Regions from separate parts of the Homo sapiens genome. Here regions 1 and 2 are each linked to region 3. The links are contacts of gene promoters, found by promoter capture Hi-C in blood cells and fetal thymus (Javierre and others, 2016). All regions are on one chromosome and are shown on one strand. Each heading gives the region's core, a stretch centred on a gene start or on the middle of the fragment in contact. The rest is flanking DNA. Distances are from core to core; before and after follow the strand shown.

The links. Contacts are between HindIII fragments. The CHiCAGO score rates a contact against its expected background, and 5 or more counts as called.
Region 1: a contact is called between the fragment with the promoter of CLOCK here and the fragment with the promoter of DANCR in region 3, in 1 of 17 cell types (non-activated CD4 T cells). The highest score is 5.4, in non-activated CD4 T cells.
Region 2: a contact is called between the fragment with the promoter of TMEM165 here and the fragment with the promoter of DANCR in region 3, in 1 of 17 cell types (naive CD8 T cells). The highest score is 5.2, in naive CD8 T cells.

The regions. Positions count from the first base shown.
Region 1 is chr4:55,545,546-55,548,245 of GRCh38, reverse strand. CLOCK (clock circadian regulator) reads left to right here and starts at 1,337. Exons shown (of 23, transcript NM_004898.4): 1 at 1,337-1,464. It overlaps LOC124900704 (a long non-coding RNA gene), which reads right to left and starts at 2,381. Exons shown (of 2, transcript XR_007058122.1): 1 at 1,636-2,381; 2 at 357-630. RefSeq lists silencers at 1,062-1,431, 1,492-1,591, 1,712-2,341. The HindIII fragment of the contact is 4,589 bases long and covers 1-2,700 here.
Region 2 is chr4:55,394,569-55,397,268 of GRCh38, reverse strand. It overlaps TMEM165 (transmembrane protein 165), which reads right to left and starts at 1,312. Exons shown (of 6, transcript NM_018475.5): 1 at 873-1,312. The coding sequence starts at 1,079. RefSeq lists silencers at 637-1,106, 1,307-1,506. The HindIII fragment of the contact is 4,477 bases long and covers 1-2,700 here.
Region 3 is chr4:52,711,092-52,713,791 of GRCh38, reverse strand. DANCR (differentiation antagonizing non-protein coding RNA) reads right to left here and starts at 1,398. Exons shown (of 5, transcript NR_145129.1): 1 at 1,265-1,398; 2 at 833-968; 3 at 250-298. It overlaps MIR4449 (microRNA 4449), which reads right to left and starts at 1,110; the gene lies at 1,045-1,110. It overlaps SNORA26 (small nucleolar RNA, H/ACA box 26), which reads right to left and starts at 543; the gene lies at 422-543. RefSeq lists an enhancer at 715-764 and silencers at 1,015-1,584, 759-1,592. The HindIII fragment of the contact is 6,853 bases long and covers 1-1,815 here.

The DNA.
Region 1 (2,700 bases), core at 88-2,587, 2.8 Mb before region 3:
GGAACCGTAGTTTGCAACCGAGGATTAAACTCAAATATGCCTTCCCCTTGTGTCCTGCTCAGACCATATGGACTGAGAGTGGATAAATGATAGTTCTTCAAAAGAAATTATCAGAATAGGGAATGAATGCTGAACAGGCAAAAATGTCGACCAAAATATCTTCTGCTATATGATGGGGTAAATTAACAAATCATGTTTTCCCACTCCTGAAAGAAAAATCCTTAGGTGCAGGATCAAGGATCTGAATAAGTGCTTCAGTTTGATGTTCTTTTGCCCAGAGCATACAGCAAGAATTGAAAATGTTTACTGAGGTGACTGTTACTTTAAAGGGAGGATTTTACGGCCAGAAAAGTGCATTTTTTGAAAGAAAAAGATGGCTTTTATTTCAAATCCAAAAGATATTCATTAAAACATAGGAATTACTAGGAATTAAGACTGTAAAGATCTCTTTTCCAGTAGAAGCACTGAAATGTGCTTTCTCATGTGGACCAAATGTGCCTTAACGCATCAAGATAAGTAATTTCCCGAAGATAAGTAGTAGTCACACGTTGTTCCAACGAGGAAATCCATGCAAATTAGGGTCCTGGTTTATTTCTGATGCTTCATTCTCCATCTTCCATTACACTGTCACTTGATTTTTAATAAAAGGGCAAGGGAAAAATCTCCAAATGAGCAAATAAATCCCGACCTCCTTTCGCTTCCCTCCTCTGGCCGAGGGCGCATGCCCTGTCTCCCCAGGCCCACCCACCAAGAAGAAGCAACCCAAGCCGCGCTCCCTCAGGAGATGGGAGAAGATGTTACTGGCGGTCCAGGCGCCTTTGCAACTCTTCTCTCCCAGCACCAGGAGAGGAAACACGAATGATGCCACTGGGGGAAAAAGTCTCCTGCCAACACCCGAAAAATCTAAGCTGGCGTCGGCAGTGTTTTGCTTTGGAAGGGAGAGCGGGTTCCTTTTCTGGCCTCTGGATCCCTCATCCGGCAGGAAGCTCTTCTTCCTCCTCCTAGCCCCCGGCATACGGGGGGAAAGCCAAAGAGCCTCCAGGACCTAAGGCTAGCGCTCTGCCGGCCGGCCGCGCCCTCCACCCGACCAGGCCCCGCCTCCCCGGCTTTCTAGTAACCGGCGCCGTTCCCGGCCGGGGCAGGGAACGGTGCGCCTGCAGAGCCAGATTTCGGCCCAAGGGGCGCGGGAGTCTCTTCGGGCGTCCGGGATCCCCTGGCGCGGCTCCGTGCTGCCTAACGGGGCAAGTCGCATGCGCACCGAGCCGCGCTGGGGAAAGGGAGAGTGAGGGGAGGGGCGAGCGCAGAGCCTCCGCCGGCCGTCTGAGCCCGCGGGGTCGCTGACGACGCATGCGCCGGGAGGGGGCGCAATCACGGACTCGGCTTGCGGCTGCCGGTTTAAAAAAGGAAACCCCGGAGAGCGAGAGCGCGAAGGAAATCTGGCCGCCGCCGCCGCGAGCGCTCCCGGTGAGAGGCGCCCGCCCGGTGGGCCCAGGGCCTGCCGAGTGCCGGTTGGCTTCCTTGGCGGCGCATGCGCGCTCCTGGGCTGGTGGAGGAGGGGAAGGGAAGGGAGGGGGAGGAGGAGCTGGCCACAGGAGCGGCGAATTTTTGGGGGGGTGGGTGGGGGGCGCCACTCACAGCCCCAGGTGCTGCTGGAGGTGGGAGCCGCGGCGCCTCCTGGACACAGGCGGGGTAGTGGTTCCGAGTCACCGCAGCGGGAGACCTGGGTGGGGGAGGGAAGAAGCCGGAGCCGCCGCAAGCCACACGGTGAGGGCGCGGGGAAGGGGAGGGAGCGGGGGGCGGCGTGTGTGGGGCCGGGGGGCGGCGGCCAAGGGTGGGGAAGGCGGGAGCTGAAGCCCAAGTTTGGCGTGTCGTTCTAGTGTGTCTTTTCCCGGGACTTCGGGCCGAGGCCCGCCCTGCCTGAGAGGCCCTCTGGGGCAGCTGGGGTTACCTGCGGGGCAGGGGCGGGAGTGGGGTGCACGGCGGGGCCGGGCGGCTTGAGGGCGCCCGGAGCTGCGGCCGATTCCAGCAGCTGGGAGGCGGGGAAAGACGGGGACCGGGTGCCGAGAGAGCTTTCGCTGGGGACCCGCTAGGCCTTGTGACCCACTTTATTCCTGTCACCACTCGGGCACGTTTGGAGCAGCGCCCAATGGGGCGCCGGGGCGGCCAGCTCCTCCGGGGAACCCCCGCCCTCCCGGCGCCCGGCCCGCGTGCCGCAGTCCGCAGTCCGAACGGCCGCCGTTGCCGGCCGCGGGCTGGTTCCGTTAGTGGTGGTGGTTCCGGGGTTCCGTTCCTAGGCAGCGCGCGGCTATTAGCGTCTGACTCCAGCGACCGCGCGCGGGTTCGAGGGTTGGCGGCGAGGCGCTCGGTTTCTCTTCTTCCGTCCACCCGCGCTTCCCGTTCCCCGTCACCGCCGCTGGCGTTTGTAGATTTCTTTCCGCCAGTGAAGCTGGGTTTTCTGGAGTTGGCTCTGGCGCTCTGGCCCCTGGAGTGTAATTTCCTACACGCAGCGCCGCAGAGTTTATATTCTTTGAAAGTGTTTGTAGCTTTGTAGAGGTCCTCTTGTTGATGGTAGGTGAGCCTAATTCTGCAAGATAAAAGCCTAGTCTCTGACCTGGCAGATGAAAGATCAAATCAGATTGTGGTTTCCTGCTATTAGAATGCCGTGCTATTAGACTTTAAGGCTTTTTAGCCTTCTTTAAA
Region 2 (2,700 bases), core at 63-2,562, 2.7 Mb before region 3:
CGACTTCTGACAAGATGGCAGAATTCAATGTTCGGGAAGATTAGTTACGTGGAGATGGGCTGGATGTGGCCTGGGTGGGAGTGGGGGTTTGAGTGCCACACTGGCCGGGATTCAGGGAGCAGATACTGGAAATGACGACAAAGCCCACGACTGGGAGAAGGGAGAAATGTTAAAACGCTGCCAAGTGACTAAGGACTAATTCTATTAACAGATTAAAAAGTTGATTTCTAGTATCTATTCAGGGAAGGACAAAATACAGGATTCTGTTTTACTTATAAATGTAGTTTTGGCATCCCACATCGCTGCAGCACGCTGTACTGCCGGAGACTAATTCCTCTGCGTTCCTAAAGGCTACTTCCTGCTAGCCAAAGCACATTTTTAAAAAGTGAGAGTCATGGTTCATAATCCATATTTGGCAAAAAGCACAGGCAGTGCCAAGTTGAATTTGGGTAAGCAGTTTGGCATAAGCTATTTCAACAATGAAATGGCCGATGTGATGATCCTCAGGGAATACAAAAAGCCTCCTAGCAGCCTTCTGTTAAAAACTTTTTGGTAGGGATGAGTCTTTCTAGCTACTCTAAGACACATCTGATCAATAAAACGCCCATCCCGGAGCAGCATCTTGGCCCTCCGGAGATCAACGTTTATAGCGGGCTCCTCTTGGACTCTCCCTCTCCCTTTCCCTAAAGGAGCGGGCAAGACCAGGCCTCACCGGAAAACAGCGCAGCCGACCGCCCTCCACCCCGGGAGCAGGGGCCGGGCTCCCCTCCCCCAGCCGAGGCCGGCGGAGTGCGGCGCTTTCAAAGGCCTGGAGCCTGGTACTCGGCGCAGCCGGCCCTGCAGCCTCGCTCGCCCCATCCCGGCCCGCTCACCTCGACCCGGGCCGGCTCGGGGCCCTGCACAGCCACAGGCTGCGGCTGCAGCTGCTGGGCCGGCGCCGGCGGTTCTTTGTTCCGGTGGCTAAGGTCTTCATCTGGGCCGGCCCGGACCGCAGCCGGGGCCCACAGCAGCGGAACCAGAAAGAGCAGAAGCAGCCGGGGCGCCGATGCGCGGCCGTTCCCTGGAGCCGCGGCCGCCATCCCGCCTGCCGGGCCGGCCGCGCACGGGCGCCGCAAGAGGAAGTGCCGGCGACGGGAAGCCTCGACCCCGAACAGCCTCCGCGGCGCGTCCTCACGACTCGCCGCCGCCGCCGCTTAGGGAGCAGTCAGCACCATCCGGGAGGTGCAAGCAGCGGGAGTGAGGTGAGGGGCAGGCCGAAGTCCGCAGCCCCGGCTCGGCGCCCGTCCTCTCCGGCGGCGGCTAAACTGGAGTCAGCCAGCTGCCTCGGCGCGGCCCAGCCCCGACTCCTCCCGGCCCCGTCCCTGCCCGCGACGGCCTCCCATTGGCCCGGCGACCGCCTTGGCGTCGTGACGTCCTCTGCCAGGTTGAGGTGCGGCGCGGGCCCTCCTCCCATTGGATCCGGCGCTCCCGGCAGGTACCCGGCGCCGCGTGTCCTTCCTCTGCTCGCATCCTCACCGCGCCGCGCCCGGGGCTCCCTTTCTCTCTCTGTGCCCCACCGTCCCAGGACTGCGAGGTCCTTCACTTCTGCTTCCTCCAGAGCCTTCCGCCGTAATGTCCGCACCCGCTGTTCCCTGCGCTTAGTCTCTCTTAGAGGTCAAATTAGTGCGAGCGCCTCTGGTTACGTGGCGCTGACTCGCAGGCACTGCCACGCCCAGCTCTGTTCCGCTCTCCCCCGCCGAGCCTCTGTGCCACCCTCCATGTGGCCACCTACCGCCAAAAACGTTCTTAGGAGCTCAAAATGCTATTTTTTTTTTAAAGTTCTGAAATGGGATTTGGAAATAACATGACATTTTTCAAGCCTTGTTTTAAGATACTGCCTATAATTACCCCAGACCAAAAATGGCTAACGTTGCCCTTGTCCAGTATGGCCTTGACGTTTTGGGTGCATCTTGTTTTGTGCTATTCCTTAGACCCTTTAAAAATGCTGGGCTTTTGAAATGGACTGTTTAAGACTTTTGCAGGATGGAGCTTTGAGTGGGCAAGACTAGAAGACAGGAAAGGATGGTCTTGAGTTAGGCTTGAGAATATTTTTACGTCTTCCCAAAAGAAAAAGTGAGCTACTTAATTACCATAAGTTTGAGACCTAGTCCCTAATAAAAATCGATAGTGCTAACCATGTGCCAGGCACTAATCTAATATTATACATATTTACATACAGTAAACCTGTACTCAGTAAAGAGCTAAGGAAGTTTATCACTAACTGAAACAAAAAATTAATCCACCAAAACAATCTGTGGGAAAGTGGGCAAACCTACTTTGAGTTCACCAAAGATACAGTGTTTGTCACAGGATAATAAAATTTCCGTCTGTTTTTTTGTTTTGTTGTTTTCTTTGTTTTTGTTTTTGAGACGGAGTTTCGCGCTTGTTGCTCAGGATGGAGTGCAATGGTGAGATCTCGGCCCACTGCAACCTCCTCCTCCCGGGTACAAGAGATTCTCCTGCCTCAGCTTCCCGAGTAGCTGGGATTACAGGCATGCTCCACCATACGCGGCTAACTTTGTAATTTTAGTAGAGATGGGGTTTCTCCATGTTGGTCAGGCTGGTCTCGAACTCCAGACCTCAGGTGATCTGCCGGCCTCGTCCTCTCAAAGTGCTGGGATTACAGGTGTGAGCCACCGCGGCCGGCCTCCGTCCATGTTA
Region 3 (2,700 bases), core at 149-2,648:
AGTGGTCCTGGGGCAGCCTGTCCCTAACAGAATCCACCTCCGAGTTGTGACAATTAAATGAAAAGGTTGAAAAGGTGAACATGAAGCACCTGCTACACTGCCCTGTTGCCACCAGCATTGTCACTGCTCTAGCTCCTGTGGCACTGCACGGACACGTGGTTGCTACAAGTTAGTACGCATATTTGGCCTTATTAGAGGCACTTTCCTATTGTAACTGAAGGGATAGTTGGCTTAAGTCAATTGAAATACCAGCAACAGGACATTCCAGCTTCAATGGCTTGTGCCTGTAGTTGTCAACCTATAGAAAGAAAAGTTTTAAAATGACGTTTTAACCAAAGAAAACTGAAATGTATTGCTTGTTCTATAAACTGTAAAGAAAATCACAAAGGCGCTCAAGTTGTAACGAAACTTTTTCTGGTTCAGTTGTGACTCCAGACAGGATCCAAAGAGGAGCTTTCCAGTCTCTTCTCTGGGTTTTATGGAGACTTACTTTACCCTTCTGTGTTAGCCTCTTAAAGCACTGGGTCAACCTTAAAAGGGCACAGGAAAGGGTGCTTTGTGATTTTTTTTCTTTGATTTTTACAGGGTTCACTACTATTTTCCGCGTTGCTCTCAATACCTCGTGGATCTCTGCTTCTCTAAGTCTGAAACCACACTAGAAACACAGCTGTTTTGTTTGGTGAGCCCCTACATGGATGTTTCCTTCCAGTTAAGGGGAGCCGGATTCGGACCTTGGCGACAAACAGACGCCGGGGAACCCTCCGGTCCCACTGGCCACGTGCTCCAGGCTGACTCATTCCTTCCCCCACCCCGCTCAAGGCTAGGAACATACCTGCGCTAAGAACTGAGGCAGCTGCACTTCCGCAGACGTAAGAGACGAACTCCTGGAGCTCAAGGTCGGCTGGGGTTGGGTTCCTGTCCCGCACGCGTGGCCCGCCCGAAACCCGCTACATAGTGGCGCGTCAGCCCTGGGGAAGCAAAGCGCAAAATTGTTACGGTGCCCAGACCTGCGCCGGGAACCTCCGGCTGTTCCGCTGGGCGCGGCGCCTGTGCCTCGCGCAGCCCCGGGACGGGCACCGCCGCCCGCCCCCCGGGCCGCCGAGGGCTGCTCTACCCCTCCGTTCTGGCCGCCGGGAGCAGAGGAGCTCGAGGCGGGCAAAGCTCGTGGGGACACCGGGCGAGCCCAGCCCCTGATCGGACCCACGGGCCGGCCGGGCGCCCTCCCCGCGGGAGACCGAAAGCCGAAGACTGGAGATGCACTCACCGCGCAACTCCAGCTGACAAAGAGGCCTGCGACCTGCGACGGGCGCACAAACCAGAGAGGCGGCGCGGGGCGGGGAGGGAAGCAGGAGGGTCGCGAGGCCCGCAGCCAATCCCGGGAAGACTCTGGGCAAGGGCGGGGCGCGCAGCCGATCCCCTGGAGAGGTCGGGTAGCTCAGCCAATCCCGGGAAGATCCTGAGCGGGGCGGGGTGGAGGGCCGCGGCACGCACAGCCAATCCCGGATGGGGCGGGACGGGCCCGGCCATTGGCTGTCGGTGTCCGGGGCCGGCCTAGGTGTGGCTCATGCAGTAGCACGGGGATAAGCCATGTCTGCGCGCGGAGCATCCTTCTCTGAATTAGATTTTTCAGGCTACCTACCAATCCCCGGCGTTGGTGATTTTGGTGCTCTTGGGCCCTAGACCCTTCCTCGGGTGCCCTTCTGGAGAGGGCATCGAGGTTACTCCAGGGTTGGCCTAAGGCCCTGGGATTCCCTTTCTTAAAGCCACACTAATCCGGTGTGTGTTCATCATCTGTGTCCGCCTAAACCGTAAGCTTAAAGAGAAGCCACGACCATGTCTTGTTCAACAAGCTCACTCCCGTGGCCTCTCCTAAAGCTAGAAGGACTACCTCCTTTCCTCATGCTCCCTCTTTATTCATTTACAGAGTCCAATAAGTAGACCATAATCAGCTGGAGGGTAGGAGTTGGGGAGGTTGAGAAGGCAACCATAGCAATCTCAAGGTAACAGGCTCAAACTTGGCAAACAAATAAGTAGAAGAAAATTGGAGTATATGCTAAAAGGAGAACTTCTATTGCTGTTTCACGTACTTACCATCTGCTAACAAATCTAATCCTCAAAATATATTTAATCATCTCCAAATTATAGATGGGGAAATAATTATGTTATGTAACTTGCCCAAAGTCACAGAGCAGCTAGCCAGTGGTAGATCCAGGATTTGAACTCAAGCAGCCTGAAGGCAGAGCCCCTCAAACAACATGCTACCTAGCCTTTCCCCAGGTGTTGGGGGTGGAGCAGGAAGGGAAACCAAAAAATAGCCTACACTTGGTTAACAGATCAAGACAGGCAGCTCTGGTGGGGTGTGGCTTTGTAAACAGAAAGAACAACTCGTCCAGAGCCCCAAGATAAAACAGGAAAGGGCTTTACCTGTTTAAGGACTCCCAGAAATGGAACTTAAGGAGCAGAGTGGCCTGAGATGAGAATGGCTTGGGGCCAGACCATGCAGGAAACCCTGGAAGAGTTTTTTTGTTTTGTTTTGTTTTTGAGATGGAGTCTCGCTCTGTTGCCCAGACTGGAGTATAGTGGCACGATCTTGGCTCACTGCAGCCTCCACCTCCCAAGTTCAAACTATTCTCGTCTCGGCCTCCCGGGTAGTTGGGATTACAGGCATGCACCACCATGCCTGGTTAATTTTTGTATTTG